Linked DNA regions of Homo sapiens: regions 1 and 3 are each linked to region 2. Evidence: promoter capture Hi-C in 16 types of primary human blood cells and fetal thymus (Javierre and others, 2016). All regions are on one chromosome and are shown on one strand. Each heading gives the region's core, a stretch centred on a gene start or on the middle of the fragment in contact. The rest is flanking DNA. Distances are from core to core; before and after follow the strand shown. Region 1 overlaps CFAP299 (cilia and flagella associated protein 299). Region 2 holds the start of BMP3 (bone morphogenetic protein 3). Region 3 overlaps CFAP299 (cilia and flagella associated protein 299).

Evidence for each region. The method cuts DNA at HindIII sites, captures the fragments that hold promoters and counts their contacts. A CHiCAGO score of 5 or more calls a contact.
Region 1: a fragment that was not itself captured here is called in contact with the fragment with the promoter of BMP3 in region 2 in 1 of 17 cell types (naive B cells); the score reaches 5.4 in naive B cells.
Region 3: a fragment that was not itself captured here is called in contact with the fragment with the promoter of BMP3 in region 2 in 2 of 17 cell types (total B cells and naive B cells); the score reaches 5.1 in total B cells.

The regions. Positions count from the first base shown.
Region 1 is chr4:80,531,481-80,534,695 of GRCh38, reverse strand. The region is part of intron 2 of CFAP299 (cilia and flagella associated protein 299); the gene reads right to left. Among named protein-coding and RNA genes, the nearest start is that of CFAP299, 200 kb to the right of the region's middle. The HindIII fragment of the contact is 502 bases long and covers 1,637-2,138 here.
Region 2 is chr4:81,029,330-81,032,317 of GRCh38, reverse strand. BMP3 (bone morphogenetic protein 3) reads right to left here and starts at 1,610. Exons shown (of 3, transcript NM_001201.5): 1 at 718-1,610. The coding sequence starts at 1,033. The HindIII fragment of the contact is 6,285 bases long and covers 1-2,988 here.
Region 3 is chr4:80,598,487-80,601,493 of GRCh38, reverse strand. The region is part of intron 3 of CFAP299 (cilia and flagella associated protein 299); the gene reads right to left. Among named protein-coding and RNA genes, the nearest start is that of CFAP299, 260 kb to the right of the region's middle. The HindIII fragment of the contact is 1,501 bases long and covers 946-2,446 here.

The DNA.
Region 1 (3,215 bases), core at 638-3,137, 500 kb after region 2:
TTACTTTCTGAAACAAGAAGAAAGTATCTTTATACTTTAAACATATGTCTTTATACTTTAAACATATAGTAGAAAATTCAAAATCTTATTTTTATATCCAATTGACTGCTACACTAAGTTTTCTCATTTCTGTACATAAATGAAACAAAAGTAAATTTTTTCAGCTCTAAAAAAGTTATCAAAATGTTAAGAGGGAATTTTGTTTCCAATTATCAAGATTAATTGTGCATTGTATCTAAGTACATATAACTAAGAATAAATTGCCAAAAGCTAGATGAGATGGAATATCTCTGTATAGAACTATGTGGTAAAAGTTATCTAAACTTTACAAACCTTAAAAATATAATAGGAAAATTTTGGTTGTTTTTTTTTTTTTTTTCCACAGAGTGAGTTCTGTTCATTACATTTGTAGATAACTTACGCTTTTAAGGAAAGATTCTTTAAAAATATTTTGTTGCTCTTTTTCAATGTTATAAAAATAAGAAATTGATTTTATCAAAGATAGAAATAAAGATAAGCAAAAAATAAGAAAAATAAAATTCCCTTTAGTTCCACCTCCCAGAAATAATCACTTTTTCAGTTTTTTACAAGAATCTTAAGTATGTAGCATGGTAGATGTTAGTTTACTTTACAGAGGTAGATATCATTAATTAATCATGGTGTTCTATTCTAATAATCAGAGTAGTTCCCTGATAACTCTGAACATGGTACTGGATCCAATTAATGCTTATGTATATTCCCACTATTTGTACATAATATTATGAACCTATCATATTTGTTGTCTTTATTTCTTACATAAGAGATCCAGATCATATACCCATGAAACAGTTTTTTTTACAACACTACTTTAAAGGACAGCTTACTATGTAACTATATGTGGGATTCTATATTTCACTGCAGAAGGTTTCCCAGGTATTTTTTGTTATGAATAATTCTGATGAGCATCCTTGGAGCATGTACACTAAGTGATGTAAAATTGATTTGCATTAAAAGGCTTTTAATATGTATTGCTAAATTATTGTCATAGGGCTTTGCAATTTTTTTTCAAACATTAAATGTCTTTGAGAAATAACTGGATCTTAGATATTTAGTGCATACAATTTTCTGCAATCCTTTTTTAAACTTTCCCTGAGGCAGGAAACCAAATAGCTTTGTTTTGCCAACAGTTAAGGCTCTTCTATAATTAAAATTGCAAAAGGTACCCACCCTGAAAAGAAAAAGGGATTTAGTGGCAAAAAATTTTTTCTAGCTAGAGGAGTCAAAAATAAGAAGAGATTGGAACATTCCAGTAAAAGAACTTATAAAAAGGAATCCTAGAATTCCACACCTGTGTTTACTAGTAAATGTTAACAACATTCATTCAACTTTTTAGAGAAACATGCTTGAATACAGTGTTCTTATCTTTTGTATTTAGCCAGGTAACTACTGACAGCTTCAATTACCCAGCTACTATTATGCAAATGAAATTGAAGCCAGAAGTCCTGCACCTGTGTTTTCCTCTGGATTTAATATTTCTAACGAGTTCTTAAATCCTGCTCTGCAGACATGCATGTGAGATTGCTCAACTCAGATTACAGTAGAGCAGGGGAAAATCTTTTCAAATGTAGACAATACTTAGAAGGAATTCAATAAAGCTTAGTATACATAAGGTTGGGATATTGTTAGATGGGAAATAGACACACAAAAAAACAATAAATTATCAAGATGTTTTTAGTATTGAGATGTGTGGCCTAGTGACATTAAAGTAATGAGAAAAAAAAGGTCAGAAAAAGTTCTTAGCCACTAGCTTTCCCTTTGTGGGAGGTCCTTTGTACCTTCTTGGCAGCCACCCCCAGTGACCTACCGTCACTGCTAGCTTTGCAGAGTTTTCTTCCTGCTTTTATGAACAATGTCTGCAACTGAAATTTAATTTCAAAAACATTTCACTGCTTTAATAACACAGAGATTTATAAATATCAACAGAAATAATAACAACCACAATAACAGTAGTTAACATGTAATTGAATCTTACCATGTGCCAGGCACAGACCCTAGGATTTAATGGGATTTATATAATTTACCTATAGTATGTCATTTACTCCTCACTAATTAATGAGAAAATAACTTAATCTTATTTTGCAAATGAGGAAACTGAAGCTTAGCTTGATTAGTCAACTGGATCAAGGCCACATAATGATTAAAAAATAGCAGAAGGCAATCCTAACTCTACTTCACACTACAGAAAAGTGAACAAGGCAAGATACTTGTGGCTTTCCAGTTATACATGCTAGAATGGTGCAAAGAAATTTTTTTAAAAAGTCAAAAAGATTATAATGGACTACTTCCCACTTTTTAATATCACATTCCCTTCTGACAGTTTTTTTCCCAACATTTAGTAAAGAACCTAGAAAAATGCTGCATCCTTCTACATGCTAATTTGTCTTATTTAAAAAATAGAAAAAATATTAAGCTGTAATAAGCTATTTCCAAAAGAGCCAAAATCTACAATACATAAAATACTTGAGATTTTAAGATGGATTTTGCTTCTCTATGGCTCAAATCTAAGTAGCAAGAAGAGGCAAAGGGAATAGGGAGGAGCATCATGTCATCCGTGACTCTTAAAAAATCTTTCCTAGAGCCCCATTAACAAATTCTGTCTTAGGCCGGGCGGAGTGGCTCACGCCTGTAATCCCAGCACTTTTGGAGGCTGAGGCAGGCGGATCACCTGAGGTCGGGAGTTCGGGACTAGCCTGACCGACAATGGAGAAACCCCGTCTCTACTAAAAAAATACAAAATTAGCTGGGCATGGTGGTGCATGACTGTAATCCCAGCTACTTGGGAGGCTGAGACAGGAGAATTGCTTGAATCCAGGGGACAGAGGTTGCAGTGAGCCGAGATCGTGCCATTGCACTCCAGCCTGGGCAACAAGAGTGAAACTCCATCTCAAAAAAAAAAAAAAAAAAAAAAACTTCTATCTTATCAGTCAGAAATGGGTCACACAGCCACACCTAGATGCAAGGGAGGCTGGGAAAATTAGTATTTTTAGCTAGGAACATTGCCACCTTGAACAAATCAGAAATCTATTTTCAATAAAGGGCATAATGGATATTGAATAGGTGACTATCAGTTGCTGCAGTCTGAAATAATCTTTGAGGTTTTTCTCTGCAGACTTTAAAAGATAATAAAAGATGGAAATTTAGAAGTATAATTGCAAATTGAAAATTATATCAACTGT
Region 2 (2,988 bases), core at 361-2,860:
TTGCTCCCTCCCCTTGTCTCCCAGCTCCTCCCAGGATGGATGGTACAACCCCTGTTTACCCAGATGCGTTTTAATAATCGAAACACCCAAGCACCTGTTTTTTTTTTTTTTTTTTTTTTTTTTGCCACTAAGGAACTATCAAGTAAAGTGTCAAATATAGTACAGTAACACAAAGGGCGCGAATTAGGAGCGGGTGCAATATCTGGAGAAGCGACTGGGGAAGGAGAAAAGGAGAGGGGAAGGCGTCTTATTCAAGTATGATTTCTCTCGGGTCCTGGCATTGGCATAAAATGGCATCTGCCTCTTAGTAAACATGGCTAAAGCCCAGTCCAAAGGAATTTCCGCTGGCCGATTTAGGAATCAACAGAATAAGGTACCCTAGAGGTGCTCCAGTCACTCAGGGCAGGAGGCCTCACAGGCATGGGGTGTCGCCCCTTCCCTTTTTCCACGAAGCTCCTCCAGCCTACCCCTCCACTGCTCCGCGCCTTCATTCTATTTCCCCCTCTCACTTTGGATTTGAAAACTGGGCTTACAGGAGATGCAGCTGGCGACACGCGGGGTGTGACTGGACGGAGGAATCCAGAGGGCAGCTGAGGAGGGCGGAGAAAGGTCCCTAGGCAGCGCCACCAAGCAAGGGGCAGACAAGGAAGCTGTGGGGGGTCCCGGGAGAAAGCTGGGGCGGGACCGCGGGAAGGGAGTCTCACCTCGCGCACTCACCTGCTGCTGCCGCCCGAAAGCTGCGAACCGTGTTGCCTTCGCGCAGGAGCCGAGGGCGCCAGGGCTGCGAGCCTCCCTCCAGGGAGCCCGGTGTCCGGGCCGCCTGGACCGTGCTGTACCTGTCATAGAGCCGCAGCATGTGTTCAGAGACCTTGTCTTGCGGCTGCAGCTCGGAGTCCGGGCCACCACCTGCCGTGCGGTCACCTGGCACAGCTTTGCGGAGCTCCGGGAAAGGTGGCTTCGGTCTCTCTCCCTGCGCCAGGCTCACGCAGAAGCAGCCCAGCCACAGAAAGAGCAGCCTGCTCGCCCCAGCCATGGCTAGGTACCCGCGCGGCGCGTCGGCTCCCGGCGTCGCTGCGGGACACTCCGAAGGCGCAAGGAGCCGGCGGCGGAGCCGAGGGTTGAACTCCAAACCAGCTGGGGCGAGGGCGCACGGAGCCCGGGACGCGGCCGGGTGCAGCGAGATAGCGGCCAGCCCCACTTGCTGCGCTGACCCAGCGCAGCCTGACAGGTGGGCTCTTCCCCAGCAGCTGCGCGGACCTCACCCGCGCAGGGCGCTGCGGGCGCCGTCTCCACTCCAACGCTGAGAAAGAGCTGTAGGTCGCGGCGTGTGTGGCCCGGGTGTTTTCAAGATCTGTCTGTACCTTCCCTCCTCGCTTTATTTTTGGGAACACCCGGCCAAACTGGCCGCGCGAGGGACTAGGACTAGCTCTGTTTTGGGCGCCAGGTCGGAGCCGGGGCTGTGCGCAGCGGTCCGGAGGGCGCTCGATTGCCTTTTCCAGGGATTGGAGCAGCTGCGGCGCGGCTGGTCCGAGTTTTTTAGTGTACGTGTGTGTGTGTGTGCGCGCGCGCGCGCGCGTGTGTGCGTGTGTGTGTGTGTATGAGAGAGAGAGACTTAGTTCTTTCGCTCTCTAGCTGATCTGTAGAGTCCTCAGCCAATCTCTCCCACTCCCTCGTCCTCGCCCTCTTAGCTTGCACCAGGCTGGGATAGAAGCAAGGGAGGGGGGGAGTAACCAGAGAACTGGCAGCGGGAGGGAGAGAAGAGGAAGTAGGGGTGGGGATGGCTGGGGAGAGGAAGGGAAAAGGAGATTCAGGACTAAAGAAATGGTAGGAGGGACGGTTTTTTTGTTTTGTTTTGTTTTGTTTTTGTTTGTTTTTTTTTTTAATTCTCCAAGAACAGTGGCTGTGTGGTGGCTAGCAAGAGGGCAGAGGAAAACAGAACTTCTTCCTGGCTTTTCGGTCTTATGATTCCAAACAAAGTCACAACGTGAACACCATTCTCGCTTACTTTCCCGAGCCTCTTCTGACGGACACTGCGGGCCCCTGCACCTGCAGCCCGTCATCATAGCTTCCTGTCTTTCTGAGAGCATACCCATCATAACGCCCCTCTCTCCCGCATCATCTTCTCTCGAGGTGAGAAATATGTGCGAGTCAATATCATGTTAAAAACAAATAAGAAAACAAGCAAACACACCACAACCCCACCTACAGCTTCCCCCAAAGGTTTCCTTCCTACAGGTCCCCAAAAGGTTTCCCAGCAGGATGGTGCAGTGGTGGCTAAAAACAAGGGTGTGTGGAAGATCCCGGAGTCCGGAACAGAATGTAAGAGTCGCTAGCTTTGTCTTCCTAATTCTCTCTTGTCATGGCTGTACAATGGAGATTAAACTATGAGCAGCCTGGCGCAGTGGCTCAGGCCTGTAATCCCAGCACTTTGGAAGGCCAAAGCGGGTGGATCACGAAGTCAGGAGTTCGAGACCAGCCTTGCCAACATGGTGAAACCTCATCTCTACTAAAAATACAAAAATTAGCTGGGCGTGGTGGTGCGCACATGTAATCCCAGCTACTGGGAAGGCTGCGGCAAGAGAATGGCTTGAATCCAGGAGATGGAGGTTGCAGTGAGCCGAGATTGTGCCACTGCACTCCAGACTGGGTGACAGAGCAAACTTTGTCTCAAAACAAAAAACAAACAAACAAACAAAAAACAACTGTGAGCTAACATTTTTCTCCACACTTATGCTCTAGACATGCCTTGTTATTTATATTTCAAGTATATTACCAAATAATTTTCACAGCAAAACCCATTTTACAGATGAGGAAACTGAGGCAAAAGGATACATAGTAAGTGACAGAACTGAGATCCAAATTCAGGGAGTCTGATTTCTGGCCTCAGGCCAGATAACCACACTATTAATAGTGAAATTAGCATTTAAACTGAAGTTTCAGTGTGCAATCCATGTAAATGTTTAGTGCAGTTCTTGACCATATGCAGTA
Region 3 (3,007 bases), core at 447-2,946, 430 kb after region 2:
AATTTTCTCTCAACTAATTGCAAAGGTAGGTGGGGCATAATGAAGTCATAGTAAATAATGCCCTCAAACTCTAACAGCATTTATTTATTCATATGACTTACATCTCAAAATGCACAAAATATGGTATGTGTAGTCAAGGAAAATTTATCACATGAAAAATTTTAAGAAGTATCTAAGTCAGATCCACTCAAAATTTAGGCAAAGCTAAGTTATAGGAGCACAAATTTTCTACTTTAAATAATGTCACATGATAAAATAGTGAGATTAAAAACTAAACTTCTCCAATTAATCTTAGATAACAAAGATGTGTATAATAAGTTATCACCTCTTTGAGTCTCAATTTCATTATCTGCTAACTAAAAGCTATAAAACTTTTAAAGTTTTTTCCTATTGATTCTTCTCTCTAACCATCTGGGAAGGTTGCAGCTTTATATAACACTCTCATATATGAGTCTTAATAACAACTAATATTTGTTAAGCATTCAATAAATACAGACACCATATGAAGCACATCACTTACTCCATCTCATTTAAATCATTCTATAATCCATCAGGTGGATACAATAGTTACCCTCTTTCTACAACTGATGAAACTAAGGCATAGAAAGGGCAAAGCCTTTTTCCAAAGTGGTTCAACTAGTAAGTATCAGAATTCAACTATGAATTTAAAATTTAACTTATAGCCTACTATCTTTACCACAGAATAAGTGTAAATCCATGTCCCAGAAACTTGCTTTGTATTTTGGATACACAGAACCATTCCTCAGGAGTTGTTTATTCCCATGAAACAACAACAACAACAACAAAAAACTGACCTTTTCAATAGTGAGAAGAAAGCAAATAACCACAGTATGCAATAATTGTCATGATAGCTACAGTACAAACTGATGAAACATTCTTAATTTTGCCACTTTTTACAATTATTAAAGACTGTAAGACAAAGCTTGTTTTTAATTTAAAAGCTCACAGCAGCACAGGGAGTCCAATCTGTATTATATTTGTATTTGGAAAATAAACGTACACTGTCAAAAGAGAAAACAGACCTAAACAGAAGCTGGTTAAATGTTTGAAAATAATTCAAGGCACTATACCATTGAAGTGATTCCAAAAAGTGACATGGATGTAATATAACATCCTGAACTACATCAGAACTCCAGGATTTAGCAAAAGGGTAAAAGGGGAGTTCATTCACGTAGAGGAAGAGAAAATTTTCTTTGGACTAGTTATATCAGATAATATGTTTGTTTAAGGAAAAGTCAACAGGTGGGAAAAAGTTCTGCATGCCTAACATGGAAAGAAAGCATATTTGCGCCTAATATATTGCAGAAACTGTTTCAGTCTAACTCATTCTTTCAAAAATATCACCCTCATACAGTGGCCAAGGTCAGCTTGAATTTTGGTAATCTGCTATTTATAAGTGTAGAACATATATGTTAAACTGATCTCAGAGGCATTCGGACACCCTGACTTTAAAAAATATTTTCCTTGTTTATTATGCATGAATTACTAATTTTTCCCTTTGAGATCTGATAAATTTCAGCTTTTTGTTTGTTTTTGTATCCCAATTTCAAGTATATAACATCTAAGTTTCCCATTGATAATCAACAACCTTCTTTGCATCATTGCTAAAGGCCCATATTATGATTTGGTCGCATGCTTTACAAAAGCATTACTGTAAATATTTCAAAAATAAATGATCCCTTACAACTTAAGCACAAGTTTCAGACCTTAAAGATTCCCTGTGGGTGTAACAGTAGTATCCTACAAGATCAGGAGAAGCAGGCCCTCATTTTATGTGAAATTTGTAACAATGCAATCATGAGGTAACCTAAGAGAGTTTTGAATTTGTACTCATTGTTAATATGGGTCCTTAAATTCAATACCTCTGCAATTTTGAAGTTACACTGTGTGGACTAGTAAAAAAAAATAATAGGACAGAAGATTTTTAAAAACTATTTTCTAGACCGACTGGGTCACTAACTACATCACTTTACCTCTATAAGACTGAGGATTCTTATCTGTCATTGCCAAACCTATATAAAACAGTAGAGAATTAAGGATAGTTCACAGGATATGAATGTTAGGCACATAACTGTAAAGACCAACTAGCATCACTGCTAATAACGAGTTAGAAAAGCACCTTGCAACAACGTATGGAGATGTCTTAAGAAAGAGTGCTATCACAGGATGTAATTTCATAAACAAATTATGCAGAAAATGAAGACGATTATAGAGCTGTGGATTCAACAGCAGTGTAAAGGACAGACGTAGAGATTAGATATCAGGTGGGAGGACAGAGATCCATAATTCATTGTATGTCTTAATGATATATAGAACAGTGCACTGCATAAAACAGACACTTTGTAAATGCTGCAACTGAAATAAATGCATACTTAAAGACTTTCTCCTTGGATTTGGCCAAATAAAATCTATTTTGCATAAAGCTTTTACTTTCACATAGTTGGAGGTGGCTAGAGGCCAAAGTATGACATTTAGGCATGCCGCATACCATCTTTTGGGTATTCCTTTTCACAGAGGTGAAGTAACTCTATACTGGAAGTGATTTACTCTAAGAATGTGGTCAAGTTTCTAGCATTAGGACCCTACCTCGATATAACAAGAAGTGGGGATTCAGAGAAAGGTGTATTCTCTTACGATTTCTTTGCTTGAAAATCTGAGGAAACAGTATGTTAGGTACAACTAAATAGCTTTGCTTAAACACGATTTGCAGTTAGGAGCAATGTCACCTAGAGGAGGAAGGCCTCTAGCATACCAGTCAGAGATTTTAGGATATAATCCTATAGTATCTGGTATTTGCTATTAGTCACTTTCTTATCATATCTGCCTATGTTGAATGCCTGAATAAAGGAGAAAGAGCTAACATTTTGGATTAATTATTTAGGATTCCAAAATACCCTGATAGGCTTGAACAAATAATCTGAATAACATGAAAACACCATTAAATGCTCAAGAAAACATGTTAATTGCTGTTTTGATATTCAAACTA